Regions from separate parts of the Homo sapiens genome. Here region 2 is linked to region 1. The links are contacts of gene promoters, found by promoter capture Hi-C in blood cells and fetal thymus (Javierre and others, 2016). All regions are on one chromosome and are shown on one strand. Each heading gives the region's core, a stretch centred on a gene start or on the middle of the fragment in contact. The rest is flanking DNA. Distances are from core to core; before and after follow the strand shown.

Region 1 (5,304 bases), core at 2,115-4,614:
AACTTTTTAAAGTTCTATATAATTCTATGCATACCTGCATAAAAATCCTTATTTCTACATTATATATGTTTATTATATAACATGGTAATAAAGTAGACCGTGTCACACCTCTGAAGAAATGCAGATTAGTATTTTACTCTTCCTTTATTCCTGGAGGGGAAATTCTTCTGCAGCAAGAAGTTTCTTTTAAAGGAACCATTTACAGCAGAATTGTTTGATAGCAAAATGTGCATAATTTTATTCTGACAGCCTGTCCTATAACGTATCAAACTGCTTTGCTAGGCTGAGCAGTCATGATTATGTGTTGGGTACAACAGGAAAGAGTTTTATGGAATAAGGTGACAGCTTGTTATGTATCTTCTGGACGGTCTGTATCTTCTGCATGGGTAGCTAAGTTGGGACTGGGGATAAGACTGATGTCTAATTTCAGTAAGCAATCACAATGGCAAATGATAAATTCCATCTTTTTCCTTTTAAGTTCAAACTCCCATACCCTCATGGAATAAGTTTCAAGTGTGGCCTTCAAGTGTGGCCCTCAAGTGTAAGAAGACACAGAAACCATATATTTATCTGCTAACACAGGTATTAGGGATATAGCATACAGGGTCCCTGCCCTCAAGAGCCAACAGAGTAGTGTGGGATTTTTGTCTGTTAATAGGCACCTGAAGTATGGAATGGGATATGTTACAACAAGCCTAAGTGCAGGCTGTAGCGGAGGTTGCAGTGAGCCAAGATCATGCCACTGCACTCTAGCCTGGGTGACAGAGTGAGACCCTGTCTCAAAAAAAAAAGAATGAACACTGGTTGTAATGTGACAAAAGGACATCACAAGACTAGAAGGTAAACGTGTAGCTACAAGACTGCAGCTACAATCCAAGTGAGAGATGATGGTGGCCTAGGCAGTAGCAATGGCCAGAAGAGAGAAGCCGACAGATTCAATGGATAGTTAGTGGATTATTAAACGCCAATGGATAGAGTTTAATAACAGACTGGACAAGAGGGAGAAAGACGGGAAGTAGTTAGGAAGACAAAAGCCTACATTTCTACTGAACTAGGTGATTGTGGAGCCTTTACATAGAAAGGGAATGCAAGAAGAATGGGTTTGAGGGAAAAGATGGATTCAGTTTGGGACAATGAGAGGCTTGAGGGGCCTCTGTGTCATCCAGGCAAAGATGCTCAGCAAGCACAGACTGATACACTATTCTGTAACTGGGCTTGGGATGTAGACAGACATTTCAGAATATTAGTCTTTAGACAGTATCAGAAGCCATGGAGGCAGATAAGCTTGCACAGGAAGCCATGGTAGTGTGAGAAGAGGGCGTAGGCAGAACGGTTGCCATAGGTTGTTAATTTGGGGTCTAAAACACATTGAGAGGGAAAAACCCTCCCTTTTCTTGAATTCTTCCTATCTAGAAATAGACTAGCTAAAGTAAGTAATGCAGTGTTGACTCTATGGTTCCCATGGGGACCCTTCCGGCCAGCACCTACAATCTAACTGCCTCACACAAAAAGTTTTAAACTTTTCTTAAAGTGGCATCAATTAAAATAAAAGACTCCAAACTTCCAGGGACACAAACAAATGCTGTCTTCAGATTTTCCAGATGGTAGAACTTGAGCCTTCCTACTAAATTTTTTTCTTGGCATTCTTCCAAATTAAATTTAGCATCCAATGTTTTCTGTGTTTGCAATTAAATAGATACATAAGAAAAATAATGTCCACATTTACAAATGAGCAACTTTAGTTATCATTTGCTCAAGCTCACAGACCAAAAGAAAGCATGAACTTTAAAATTTCATTGCTTTGTGACTTCATTGCTATACGCATGTTACTTATAATCTCTCTGAACCTGTTTCTTCTTGTTTAAAAAGTGGATAATATACAAAATATCTGTTCAGTTTCAAAAACTAGAAGTTATTATGTAATATATGAGGACCTTCTCCCCTTCCTCATTTTGTTTGGATACAGAATCAAAAGTAGCACAATGGACCTAAAGTGCCAAATGAGTCCATACAGAGAGGAGAGACGCTCAGAAAATTCTGGGGTCATGCCTCCTGGCATCCGCTATAATCTATGAAACTTCACAGTACCTACTGACCCAGCTATGACTGCTCCAAGAACCTTTCCTGCTTCCCTCTAATTCTAAGAAGAACCCTAGGAGGATCCTAGGGTATGAGAAGAGCCATGCAGGATCCAGCCATCCGGCTGGGTAACTTTTTAGTTTCTAAGCTTCCTTGGTATGTGGGGAAGAGAAAATTAGGAAGAGAATCAGATGCAGCTGAAAAGCCCTAACGACCTGAGATGAGAGGTCTCAGTTTCAGAGCCTGTTCCTCACAGCTGTCTGGCAAAAAGAGAACTTTTCCGAACTGAAAAGCAACACCAAGTATTGACTGCCAACCCACTCGGTCATCCAGGTTAACTGTGTATACAGACCTGTGCAGGTTATGTCACCAACGGTTACTCTGAAGGTGAAAGTGGGCACGTGTATTTGCACATCAGATCTTTCACATTCATAAACTGGGATGTTCTTGGTCTTCATGCCGTATTCGTGTAATACCTGAATCGGTGTTTTCCCTGGCTTAGCTGTTATCATCTTCCCCAAACTGCAAAAACCACAAAAAGGTGTGCTTTGCATGCCAAATTGGAGATTGAAGCAGAAGCGTAGAGGCCAGTTTTAACCGCCACCGACGGTGACGAGGGAGGCGCCGAGTTCCCCGGAGGCCAGGGCCAGAGCTGGCGAGGCTGGGGCGCACCTGTCTTCCGGCCCCGCTGCGGCAGTCACTCCGCAGGAGCAGGCGGGGTGAGCGAGGTCTTTAGAGAGAGCACTTGAATGCGGGTAGGAGAGATTCTCAACAGAACAGGGCTGGCAGCAGCGCCGCAGCCTCTCAGGGAAAACCTGACGATCCCTTCCCGGGCGCGCCGACCGAGCGTCACCTCCGCCCGCCCCGCGCGCCGCCAGGGACCACGAGAGGGGCGGGGCCCGGCCGCAGACCCCAACCCTCGCCGCCGAGAGGGCGGGGCCGAGCACCCACAGCCGCGGAGGCGTGGGCGCCGGGCACGGCTTTACCCAGAATGCCTCTGGAGGGCCGGCTCCCCGCGCCCCGGCCCTGCCGCCCAACGCTCCCGGCCCTGGGGCCCTGACTGCCCGCACGCTGACCTGAAGGTCCCACTGTCCTCGCGCTCCAGCGGCGGGGCCTCGGCGCGGTGCCTGCTCTGGGACATGGCGAGAAGGGACGGCTCAGCGGCTGGAGGAAGAGCGGTGCGGAGCGACGTGCTCGCTCCCCGGGTCGCTGGTCCCCGGGAGGAGCTCCAGCGCCGCCACCTCCTCCGACTCCCCCGCCTCCTGCTTGCGTTGCTCCAGCGAGGGGGCAGGCAGGGTGGGGGCGGAGCCTTGGTGCCGTAGCTCCGGCTACGCCCCCTCGCTGCTCCTCTGCGGGCCTCCGTCCCGGCCCAACTCCGCCCCTGTCCCTTCCAGGGTCCGCCCCCTTCCCGCCCGGCTCCGCCCCGCTCCCGCGTGGGCACAGGCATTGGGCTCCCGGGGGTTCTCCGCGCCCGCCCCTGCCGGCCCTGACCAGCCTGTAGTAACTGGCCCCTAGGCCGCAGTTCTTTGTCCTTAGCAGGAGGCCGTTTCTTGCCGGGAGAGAGGGATTAGAGGGATTGTCCGGCGTGGGTCTAGGGTCGTTGAGGCCTAAAGTTAAGCCTTTGTGGGGAGGACGGATTGGGGGCTGGGTCACTTTAAGAAAAAGATTCTAAAATTACGAAGGCAGAATTCCAGGGAGTCTCCCGGGCCTGGTCCTGAAGCTTGAGACCCCGGATATATACGCTCCAGGGGGCTGCGGTGCGCTCTTCGGGTCCCCGAGCCCTGTGTTTAGGAACACGCGGGGACGTCCAAACACCCGCTCCTCTCCCGCCGGGCGGGCTCCTTTGTCTTCTGGGCTTTCGTCGCGAGATGGAACGCTGGGTCAGTGCATCCCAGCAAAACACGTTAGGAGTAAACGAAGGCCTTTCCGGGGACCTGGGTAGTCGGTTGTAATGGCGTTTGCCTGGGATGCAGCACCTTTGGTGGGCCATTAGATGACGTGTCGCTTCTCCAGGGGCTTGCTAGGCACTAGCAGAAATGCTCCCCTGTGCTTACTCGGTGTTATGGAAGATTGCTTGCACAATGCTATTCGTACGAAAGGATATTATTAAAAGTGATTTATGGGCGGGCGCGGTGGCTCACGCCTGTAATCCCAGCACTTTAGGAGGCCGAGGCTGGCGGATCGCCTGAAGTAAGCAGTTCGAGACCAGCCTGGCCAACATGGTGAAACCCTGTCTCTACTAAAAATACAAAAATTAGCCGGGCGTGGTGGCATGCGCCTGTAATCCCAGCTACTCGGGAGGCTAAAGCAGGAGAATCGCTTGAACCCGGGAGGCAAATGTTGCAGTGAGCCGAGATCGCGCCACTGCACTCCAGCCTGGGCGACAGAGTCAGACTCCCTCTCAAAAAAAAAAAAAAAAAAAAAAGCGATTTGTTGTTTTGTTAGCATGTAAGCCCTGGATGCTTGAAACAAGTGAAAGATGTTCAGAATCTAATCAAATTATATCATCTGATGCTTTAATTAGAGCCTATTCTCTCTTCCTCTCCGTCTATATATGTATGTATATAGATTACTATCCATCACTGTTTTAATGGATATCTTATTGGAAGGGCTACATAGTCAGTATTTCACAATATATGAACTCCGCATAACACCTATGGCAAAACATTTCAGCACTCAGGTAAAATTCATTTTTTGCCACAAAATTACTTAAAAACAGGCCAGAACTTTATATAGCTCTTGTTAAAGGTTAAGTAGCTGGGATAATAATGAAACAAAAAGATGCAGCAGGACTCCATTTCAAAGAGAGAGAGTCTGTGTGCCCAACTTCAGAGTAAGAAACCACTAGGTAATAGTTTATATAGTTACTTATATGTAATGTGGCTTTATTTTTTAAATAAAGATTTGCATATAATTGTTTATATCTGTGAATTTATATTTAATATTAAACACAGTTTTGTAAGCATATAAGATGGAAAATGAATGAAATGCTCAATCAATGAGCTGTATGCCATGAGGATTCAAAACAGCACTTTGGTGTTGCCAAAATTCCGGTGGTGGACTTGTGAAGGAATTCCCTTTGGACTAGGTCCACTGTAGATTGTATCCGGGACTATCGTTAGTGCCTAAATTGCATTGCTTCCCACAGCACTATATGCTTCCCTTAAAATTGGCCCATTGCCAGTGGCAAATCACTATCTACTGTGATCCTTATCATAGACATTG
Region 2 (5,304 bases), core at 1,791-4,290, about 13 Mb before region 1:
GGTGGATCACCTGAGGTCAAGAGTTCGAGACCAGCCTGGCCAACATGGCGAAACTCCATCTAAAAATAAAAAACAAAAATAGATGGGCGTGGTGGTGGGTGCCTGTAATCCCAACTACTTGGGAGGCTGAGGCAGGGAGAATTGCTTGAACCCAGGAGGCAGAGGTTGCAGTGAGCCTAGATTGCACCACTGCACTCCAGCCTGGGCAACAGAGGAGGTATATGGTTAAGGATCACTGTAATGCACAATATAGCTATAGAGTTTACATCATTCCCAAAATAGAAAGGCTGTATATACTAATATTTTTTAATAATAAGACTTATAAAAATGTATAATGGTTCTAACCACAATTATTAGGAACAGGTCCAGTACTGGTACTCAACGTATTAATAATTCTTAAATACAATTCTAAAATATATAAACATGCCAGCTACTGTTATGGGTCAGTAAAAAGATGGCATAATTGCTGTTATAGTTTAATACTGACTGCTCCCTTAAATAGATAACTCTATTCACTTACATTAAGTCTATACACTCTCTCTCTCTCTCTCCCCTCCCCCATATATATATATATATATATATATTAGTATCTGCTTAGGACACAGAAGTCAATTACACCCAAACCCTGGATGGAATCAGAATCAGAATCAGCCATGCAATGAGGAAGAAGAAATGTAAGTTGCGGCCTGTGATTCCAACAGTTCTCTTTCTGGAATGGCTACCAAGAGAAAGGTATGTGACTCTTCCTTTCAACTCTAATGATACAAATTTAAATGTGAAATTAACAAGGTACAATCTAATGAGTGAAGGAAACAAAACTGTTTCTGTAAGTCTACAGATTGCTTAGCAAGAAGACCCTTTTCTCCTCTCCCCACTCCCCACCCCTACAACCCCTTCAGAAGTGTTCATTAAACAGCCATGATACAGAAACAGAAATAAGAAAACAAACAAACAAAAAAAACAACCACCAGGCAGAAGCAGGCATTGTACAGGAAATCTTTCCTACTCAGATTTCCATCACGTCCCTAATGAGGTATCAATCAGCTCTAACACCGTCTGCACAAAGTTGTTGAAAGATCGCAGCCTTTTTATAAGCAGGGTTTATTTACATCAGCATCCTGGAAGGAATGTATACTAACAATCTAGGACTTTCCTAGGCAGTATTTACAGACATCTGGGCCCCTACTAGAGCTCAAGTCCATTCAGCATCATCCTTGGTGCAAAGCAGAGTTAGCACTCAGGTTCCTCTGAACAGTATTTCTGATTCTGTCATTTCAGTGTCCTGCAAATCACAGTGTCCAACAGAATCAACACTGGTAAGAATAACCAATTAAATAAAAACTTGATTCTAATAATAAATTATTTTGTACTAATTTCTTCAATCTATACTAACTACAGCTCTCCCATGAAAATTTTCTGCTCTAGCTAAACACACTCCCACTGGAGTACGGAGAAAGGGGATCCACAGAAGAGCCTAATCCTGAACCACTTCCATGTATTTGCCCATCCATTTCTCCTCTCTGGCCAATACTCTTCATATTCAAATTCTACCAGTCCTTCAAAGATCAGATTAAGTTCCAAAATTTCAAAAGCCTTCTCAGCCTACTCTTACAGCTGAATAGTGCATACCAACTTCAATTAATTATAAACTCATGTTTCATTTTGTATTATTTAATAGAAACATTGGAATTTAATCTTTGTGTTTTTTACATTTTGTTTTCTCCACTAGATTACCAACTTGATGACATGAACCACTTATTAGAATTCTTTTGTAGCTTGTAACTGTATTAGGCACAGTTTCTTGAAGAAATTAAGCACATATTTACATGTTTTAAATAACTTTGTATTGATTTGCATATGTATGAAGGAGGTATGTCATACTTGGCTTTAGAAAAAAGTCTCGTCTAATATTCAAGGAACCAGTCTGTGACCTTTGTTTATTATGTAATTTTTTGAAACACAATCTATATTTACAATCCTATTAGCTGTTACTGGATATATATTTATGGAAGAATATAACACTACTTCTTCTTTATTACATACAATTTGGATACTCTTCTGCCTTCGCCATTAACTATACATTAAGACAGTTCACATAACTTTATTTTTTATTTTCTGTTTTTTTTTAGAGATGGAGGTCTAACTATGTTGCCCAGGCTGGCCTCGAACTCCTGGGCTCAAGTAATCCTTCACCTCAGTCTCTCAAGTTGCAGGGATTACTGGCTTGAGCCACTGTGCCTGGCAGTTTACACAACTTTAATTGCTGGTTTATGTATAAATTTCCTTCTATAATCTAGTCAGAATCTAGTCAACCTACTACTGCATAAAAATTTGCTGAATATCTCCCAAGAGCTAGCCCTCATAAAGGGTTTTAAGGCTCTCAATAAGCTTAATATACAGAAATAAACTGCATTGGCTGTATATTTGCACAAAAGTTGTAAACTTGGCTGCTGCAGAGCAATTTATGTACATACGGTACCTGTTTCTTTGGCTGTCCTTTTTTTGTGTAACAATTACTAATATACATTCCCTTTTATCTAAAAAAATCCCTATGTACTAATGAAACCTCTGCCAGAGGATATAAGGAACACGAAAATAGTATAAGACACATTTCTTGTGCCTGATGAATTTACACCCTTGTCAGGAAGATAAACATATGTATAAATTGTACCTACAGAAAATACATAATATAGTGTGATCAGACTGAATGACTTGGTAACTGAGAAAAATAAAAATAAACTGAATAGGAAAAAATGTCCTAAGCATTGCATTTAAATATCATACCTGGATTAGGACTCATTTTATGGGCATATATCAGTGCAAGTAGAGAACAAAGTGATACATCTTGTTTATTTTTAATAGCCTCAAATTCTCGAAGAGCTTCTTGAGTTTTACCTGAAAATCAAGATTATGATATGAAAAACTGTTCTTAGTGCAAAGCAAGAATTTAAAACTGATGGAACATGTTTAATGATTAACACGTACCTTCCATTAATGTGCCATAGGCATGATAAAACCTGAAGACTGGATCACTTCCATACCTCTTAATTCCTTCACTGGCAACCAGTAATACATGATGGAAATATCTCTCTTGACAATAGTAATTAATCAAAGTCTAAATGGAAATAATGAAAAAATGTTATAAAGGAATTCTGGTGCTCTGAAATACTCTAAGAAGCAGATAATAATCTAACATCTAGAATAATGTAAAATTCAGGCAATGTGACTTTTTTCTTCCAAGTTTCTTAAAATACTATTAATGGCTAGAACTCAATGCTAAGGATTGCAGAACTGAATGATCATAAAATTACTGAAATAATTCAATGTTTTCTAATAATTTAAATTATTTTTCCTAAGTTTTTGTTAACAGCACCGAAATGAGGCTGCTTTCACCTTTTTTCCTTTGCCCACATTTTCTTGAACGTTTTAGAAAACAGAAAGGCAGACAATAAACAGGAACTAAAAAAAAAAAAAAAAAGACAAGAGGCTTCCATTGCCAGACCATAGGTTTCTTTAAAAAAAAAAATCTTCTTTTTAAAATATCCAGTATTTTATTACAGCATTACAAAGTAATGACAAATTTAATTCTTCAACATATCATCAAATGTTATCTTACTCGGCTTTGAGTTCTGCGACAAATAAATTGTCAGTTAAGAATAAATAAACTATTTTTCAATGAAAATCGTTGTCTTTAAGCTTTTTCCAAAGTTATATTATTTCCATATACAAGACAAAACTACTATCAGGACCTACTAACTTCTGAATAAAAATGGGCCTGTGCTGTCTACCATTTTTCCTACGATTATGTCTAAGGCTTGGTTGCTAACCTCATCAAAGACAGAAACCACACTTTCCCACCATCACTAGGATACACCTGATTCACCAGAAAGCAGTTTGGGCCACCCCATACCTACCTACCTGGACTCTACAGCTTGTTCAGTAGCAGTGAGAAATACAGGTGACTAAGTGACAGGATTGAAATCTAAGGGTATCTAGACAGCTCTGGTTTGTTTGTTTTGTTTTGTTTTGGAGATTCTGTCACTCAGGCTGGAGTGCAGTGGCGCAATCTCTGCTCACTGCAATCTCTGCCCCCTAGGTTTAAGCGATTCTCCTGCCTCAGCCTCCTGATCTGGGACTATAGGCACACCCCACCGCACCTGGCTAATTTTTGTATTTTTAAGTAGAGATGGGGCTCCCCATGTTGGCCAGGCTGGTCTTGAACTCTTGACTTCAAGTGATCCACCCGCCTGGGCCTCCCAAAGTGCTGAGATTACAGGCGTGAGCCACCACGCCCGTCCGACAGCTCTGTTTTATATAGTCTCTTGCTTCTGGAGGGCTATAGTCCATGTACTTCTCTAGATCAGTTAGGCGACTGTTCTCTGTAATTTTACTCTGCCTCCCTCCTTGTGATCACTGCTCCCTAACCTCCTTTTTAGCCATGTTTCTTAAAAGTGTGCTCCATACCCCATCTCCAGACCCCCACAACACATTTCAGTGAAACACAGTTTTCCTCCAATGCTCCATTCCCTAAAGTTGCAGAATGACTTCTTACTTTGCCACAACTAAGGACACGTTTAATACCTTACTTGACTTCTGCACACTATCACTAAGCATCTATAATCCTCCTGAAAGGCAGTGGCATAGCACCATAAAAAGGACGCGAATTTAAAGGCAAAAAGAATCTCTGGTCCTTCTTACAACGCCTCAGTCTGCTCATTTATAAAATGCTGTTAGTAATGCAAATGTACAGGTCACTGTGAGAATTAATTAAGATATCATAGTATAAGAGTTCTATTCTGAAAAAAATAAGTTCCTCTGCATCCCATATGTTAATGGAATAAAAAAAAAATGTGTCCTGCGCCAAGACCTCTTGTCTATGTTCCAGATTCATATTTCCATTTTCCACCTGCTACCCTGCTACTCATGAATCCTCCCTTCCTATTTGCCCAGTCTCTCTAAGTCTAACCACTTAGTAGGTTCTTCTATTTCTCCAGTCTACCTCCCACTAAACATACCTAATGCTACTGCCTTGGTTCAGGTTAGGTTATTCAATCCAAAACATTTACTGACTGCCTACTAGTACCCAGGCACTGGGCTAGCTACTATGAATAGAAAAATGAGTAAGACATGGTTCCTGTCCCCCCGGAAAACCTACATTTTTCAGATGAGACTGTAATCTGAAGACTAACTGAAATATAATGTAGTAAATGTAAGAAAAGAGCTTATAAACTCCTTTGGGAATGTGGGATAGCAACATTTTGACAGCATTGAAAACTGAATGTGGTGTGAGGGGAGGATGGATGA

What was found. The method cuts DNA at HindIII sites, captures the fragments that hold promoters and counts their contacts. A CHiCAGO score of 5 or more calls a contact.
Region 2: a fragment that was not itself captured here is called in contact with the fragment with the promoter of PRKRA in region 1 in 1 of 17 cell types (non-activated CD4 T cells); the score reaches 5.6 in non-activated CD4 T cells.

The regions. Positions count from the first base shown.
Region 1 is chr2:178,447,811-178,453,114 of GRCh38, forward strand. PRKRA (protein activator of interferon induced protein kinase EIF2AK2) reads right to left here and starts at 3,365. Exons shown (of 8, transcript NM_003690.5): 1 at 3,156-3,365; 2 at 2,432-2,601. The coding sequence starts at 3,220. PJVK (pejvakin) reads left to right here and starts at 3,568. Exons shown (of 7, transcript NM_001042702.5): 1 at 3,568-3,959. RefSeq lists an enhancer at 2,521-3,095 and a silencer at 2,858-3,637. The HindIII fragment of the contact is 1,572 bases long and covers 2,226-3,797 here.
Region 2 is chr2:165,946,610-165,951,913 of GRCh38, forward strand. It overlaps TTC21B (tetratricopeptide repeat domain 21B), which reads right to left. Exons shown (of 29, transcript NM_024753.5): 2 at 2,986-3,115; 3 at 2,785-2,895. It overlaps TTC21B-AS1 (TTC21B antisense RNA 1), which reads left to right. Exons shown (of 4, transcript NR_038984.1): 2 at 588-732; 3 at 1,279-1,316; 4 at 1,426-1,712. Among named protein-coding and RNA genes, the nearest start is that of TTC21B, 4.5 kb to the right of the region's middle. The HindIII fragment of the contact is 1,308 bases long and covers 2,387-3,694 here.